2 separate regions of the Homo sapiens genome follow, and region 1 is linked to region 2. Evidence: promoter capture Hi-C in human tissues and cell types (Jung and others, 2019). All regions are on one chromosome and are shown on one strand. Each heading gives the region's core, a stretch centred on a gene start or on the middle of the fragment in contact. The rest is flanking DNA. Distances are from core to core; before and after follow the strand shown. Region 1 overlaps NETO2 (neuropilin and tolloid like 2). Region 2 holds the start of SHCBP1 (SHC binding and spindle associated 1).

The links. The method cuts DNA at HindIII sites, captures the fragments that hold promoters and counts their contacts. A contact is called where the count stands out against the background at its distance.
Region 1: a contact is called between a fragment that was not itself captured here and the fragment with the promoter of SHCBP1 in region 2, in 1 of the 25 tissues and cell types used here (lymphoblastoid cells).

Annotation. Positions count from the first base shown.
Region 1 is chr16:47,132,540-47,135,239 of GRCh38, forward strand. All of the region lies in intron 1 of NETO2 (neuropilin and tolloid like 2), which reads right to left. Among named protein-coding and RNA genes, the nearest start is that of NETO2, 10 kb to the right of the region's middle. The HindIII fragment of the contact is 4,421 bases long and covers 1-2,700 here.
Region 2 is chr16:46,619,965-46,622,664 of GRCh38, forward strand. SHCBP1 (SHC binding and spindle associated 1) reads right to left here and starts at 1,415. Exons shown (of 13, transcript NM_024745.5): 1 at 1,293-1,415. The coding sequence starts at 1,395. RefSeq lists enhancers at 558-1,146, 1,147-1,733. The HindIII fragment of the contact is 15,901 bases long and covers 1-2,700 here.

The sequences.
Region 1 (2,700 bases), core at 37-2,536, 510 kb after region 2:
GCTGTGCTCTGTGCTACAAAGGCTAGCCATATTTAACACTGAAGCTTTTTTCCATGTTGAACATTTCTGAGACCCAATCAACAACATATTGAATTGTTTTGTGTATGTGGTTTGAAGATTTAAAGAAACATTTTCATGGATGCTGCACTCTCCCTTTCAAAGGAAACCACACTGCCAGCCTGTCCCGAACTACTGCGTGAACTGGAGTTATTCATTCAGTGAATAGGCACTTACAGAGTATCCACTGAAGAGCGGGCACCAAGGATGCACAGGTGTGGAGAGAGAAATCGAGCAAAATGGTTAAGAGTATGGACTTAAGGAGTTTCATGAATCTAGGCTAGGGTTCAAGTTTTGCCTTCTACCAGCTGTGAGGCCTTTTCAGCTCAGTTTACTTATTTGTAAAATGGAGATGACGTATAAATAGGTCAACCTCATTGGTGGTTGTGAAGATTAAATGAGATAATGTATATAGTATTTTTATGTGCCAGACATTCTGCTAAATAAATGATGGATATTAGGACAAACCAGCATCCACAAGGAATCAATGTATTGTTGAATCTACAATACAAGGTGAAACGGAGTTTAACAGGAGATATGCAGAAGGCATAATGGAAGCAGAAGGTCCATTCTGCTGGGGGTTAAGGGAAATAGAATGAGGAAAACTCCCAAAAAAGAAGGCATACTCTGGTTGGACCTTACAGTCCTTGAGCCCAGGAAAAGGAGAAAGAAACAGCTTAAATAAGAACATGGAGGGCAGGGCGCTGGTGGCTCATGCCTGCAAATCCCAACACCTTGGGAGGCTGAGGCGAGAGGATTGCTTGAGCCCAGGAGTTCCAGAGGCCCTGTCTCTACGGAAAAAAAAAAAAAAATTAGCCAGGCATGGTGGCATGTGCCTATAGTCCTAGCCACTTGGGAGGCTGAGGCAGGAGGATCACTAGTGCCCAGGAGTTAAGAGGCTGCAGTGAGCCATGATCGTGCCACTGCACTACTGCCTGGGCGAAAGAGTGAGACCATGCCTCAATAACATAAAGTAACATAAAATAACATAACATAAAATGACATAACATAAAATAAAATAAAATAAAATAAAATAAAATAAAATAAAATAAAATAAAATAAAATAAAAACATGGAGGCATGAGCTCTAACCTACAGCAGGTTTTAGGGAACTCTGAGTAATACAGTGTGGTTGGCAAGTGGAAGGCTACAGCAGTATAGTAGGTTAGAGAAAAGTTGGGTGAGATCTGATTGTAACAAGTTTTGAATGGCATGCTAAAAAGTGTGGACTTCTAACTATAATGAGAAGCCCTTGTAGGTTTTTAAACAAGTGTATGACATTATCACTTCTGTGTTTTAGACCAATAATCCTAATGGTTGTGTGGGGTCTATACTTTTAATGAGAAGAGAGAAGATTAGGAAGGAAAGGTGATCATGTTTGCATTACCATCTTTGAAGCAGAGTGGTAGCAGTGGAAAGGGAAAGGAGGAGAAACTAATGACATGGTTCAGGTGTAGAGTCAAGTGCAACTTACAGGACGTGAGGGGTGAGGGAGGTGGAGGCACTGGAGTCTGCTAGTGCAAGTGGTTGGTAGACAGTTACCACTGTTCACTCAATAGCACGTACTGGGTGTCTACTACCAAAGTCACCAACGTAGAAATGGTTAAGAGGTAGCTCTTGTTATTCAGTTCGTATCTTAAAATCTAATTCTTTGACCTCTTCATCCTTGGTTTCTTGCATCCTTGCTGACCTCTGTGTCTCCTCTGTCTTTTCTCAATAACGTTAATTTCCCCCTTCCCTTTTTTTGGTTGATGGTAGTGTTGAAGATCTCACGTTATGCTGAGATCTTGAACTCTTCACATCTTTACACTGGATCTGATTAGAAGAATGGAGTTTTGAAACATTTTTTAATACAGAAGATTTATGATCAAAAAGAAAAGTCAGGTAATAGTAGGTATTTGATAATTCAGCAAATAACCCAACCATTTGTGTCAATTTATCTCATTAGTAGACACTATCTCCCCAGGCATATCATTCAGATCATATGCCACTGGTCAATATTTCGTGCGCAGTATACCATTCCTCCTTAATCACAGGTGTAACTATTTACCAGTTTGACATTTACAAATCCATCTATAAGCAAATAACCACACAAAGCCAGCAGACAGGGCATGTAAGAGGCCAATAAACTGAAGGCAAGACAGCAACGGCAACTATGGCAAAGGGATGAACTGTGCCAGCACAATTACGGTATACAATGACCAATAAAAATGTGCTTGTATAAAATAACTGCTTTATGAAATTTGCACAGAATACACAAGTAAGGCAGAACAATCATACTGAAAATAAAGTTGCAAGGCCAAATAGCCTATTATATTCTTTTCAACTTTATTTAGAGGGCTGCACAGTTTTCTTTTTTTCTCAAGTAATTACTAGCTATTCACAACTCAATCGACCAAATGAGCTGTGCCACTAAATATAAAAACGACGTATAAAGAATAGGGCGAATCTGCACAGCAATTAGGGATAGAAAGATGTACTGATACAGTTTTTGGTAATACAGTTGTGACTATTAATCCATTCTAAATTCTGTATCATTATAAACACAGTTTCCTGAGTTGTATAACAAGGTCTTTGTACACTGCTTGAGTTATAATCAGGCTGAGATATTAAAACAAATTCCATTAATGCTAAACCCTGCAAT
Region 2 (2,700 bases), core at 165-2,664:
GCAGAGGTTGCAGTGAGCTGACATTGTGTGCCACTGCACTCCAGCCTGGGCAACAGAGTGAGACTCTGCCTCAAAAAAAATAAAATAAAATAAAAAATAAAGTGTGTAACATGATGTTTTGATATACCTATACATTATGAAATGATTACCACAGTAAAGTGAATTAATATTTCCATCACCTCGCATAGTTACCTTTTGTGTGTGTGTGGTGTGAACACTTATGATCTACTCTGTTAGCAAATTTCAAGTACAAAATTTGTGTCGCATTGCACCATCACGTCATTGCCTATTAATACTGTAATAATAATACAGTATTATTAACTATAGTCACCATGCTGTATGTACATCAGATCCCCAGAACTATTCACACTGCATAACTGAAACTTTGGACCCTTTGCCCAGCATCTCCCCATTCCCCCAACCCACTGGCAACTACCACTCTACTCTCTTTCTGAAACTTCCTCTTTTTTAGATTCCCAATATAAGCGATGCCATGCAGTATTTATTTTTGCAGCCACTTTAAAAACTTTATTTCACTTCAACTTCACCACAAGTACAACCATTGGCATAGTCTTCCAGATGGGAAAACTGAAGCCAAGTGACTTTTGCCAGTTGGATAGGTGGGTTAATAGTGGAATTGTCACACTTATGTTTTCTCACTTTGTTGGGACTCTCTGCTACACAATACAACCGAAAGTGTTAACGTAAAAACATGAACCAGCTTAAAATATCAGAAAAAAAAAATAGTAATGAAACTCTATGAGGAGGAAGAAAGGGCAGAGAACTAGAAGACCCCGGTTCTATTTCTGGACTCCGGCCCAAGTTGGCGCTCCTCACTTTGGACACGTCACTACCCTCCGTGCACAGGACAGCCATCTAAGCCAAGGGTTCAAGCTTTTCTCTTCTTCGGAAAAGGGAAGTGTGGTTCGTGATCTCCTTTGAGATGCAGATGAAAAAATGGCCCCTTGAGCAACAGTAAATGCACAGTTCCCGCAAAACCCATCCAGATAGGGAATTCCTGGCCCAATCCAGCTCCCTCCAACCTCGGGGCGGGCGGAGGCCAGAGAGTGCAGGGAGAGTGGGAGATGCGGATAGGGAAGAGAGGGAGTCCCCCACCCCTGGGTACCGCCCGACTTTGAGGTCCCGTCACTGGGTCCCGGCCGCGCACCGCCGTTCCCGCCACCCTGGACAGACGGGTCCGGAAGGCCCGCGACCCAGGCGCCCTCCTAGGGTCCCGACGCCCCAGGCCTCCGCTCAGAGGCGGCTCCTCGGCCCCGGCATGGAGAGCTCACCTTTCTCCAGAGACGCCAGCTCCTGCTCCACCGCCCAGCCCATGCGCTCCGGCGCCATGGCCGCTGCCTCCAGACCGCCGCCCGTCAGCGACCCGTCAGCCATTTCAAATTTCCGCGGACGGCAGCCCAGGCAACGACGTGATGACGCAGGCTCTGCTGATTTGATAGTCGGGCCGAGGCCGTGGACCAATTAGAGTCCGGCCCCGCTCCAGCCCCCACCAACACTGCCCCCTCGCCCCAGGCTGACAGCTGTTCTTGTTCAAGTGCCCGGCCTTTGCTTTTCTGGGATGAACTTGAAGAAAGTCGAATTGGAATATAATTTGGAATGATTTTCGAAAAAAACGAACCAGCAATGCCTGGAAATGAGATATAGTGGAAAAGTCACTGGGTTGAGAGTCAAAAAACATAGTATTTAAACTTACCTGGGCTATTCCTAGTGGTATTGCCTTGGGCAAGTCATTTCACCTCCCACAAGCACAACTTCAACTGAAAAGGATGCTGGCCTACGTGGGCCCAAAACTTTCACCACCAAACACCAGTCTCTCTCTGTCTTTCAATACACACACACACACACACACACACACAGAGAGAGAGAGAGAGAGAGAGAGCATATTTTCAAAGAATGTCAAATTAAATTTAGTAAGTAAATTTGTTAATTTGCATTAATCAAAGACAACTATAATCTCCATCATAATGGCTAACATTTACTGCATATTGTGTGCAAGATACCCTCCTGCATGCGTTACCTGGATTGTTCTGTTTAATCTTCACAATGATCCTATGAGACGGGAGCTATTACTATACCCATTTTACAAATGAGCAAATGGAGTCACTAAGAAGTTAAGTCACTTCTCCAATCTAACCCAGCAAAGCCAGGATGTGAAACCAGCCAGACTCCATGAAGAAGCCTTTTAATGTCTCTGCCAGGCCATCACTACTAGAATGATGAGGTCAGCCCAAGATAGCCCAGGTAACCAGGACACCAAGTGGGATGCGTCCACAGGGGACCAAGAGCCTGGTCATGACAGTTCGTCTGTGCAGTCTTAATGTGGGGAAACATTTCCACTTATTGCTTTGAAGAAACACCTTGGGCTAAAGTCTCTCGGATCCCTTACAGCTGAAATAAAATGGAGCCAGGAGGGGTGACTGGAAAGCTGCACTTAATTGGGCTAACTTTTCCAGGAAGTAAGATTTCTTTGACTTTTGTTTGCAGAATCTGACCTTACATTTATTTGCTCACTGAACAAATACATATTGAGCACCATGAGGTAAAAACACAGAAAACAATAATCAAGACTATCAACAGGCCTTGAGGATGACGCTAGCTTTTTCATTATTCTCTTCTTCAACCTTGCCGCCCACAAACCTCACAAATGGCAGCATTTCTCCTCACCCATTTGCAGCATCA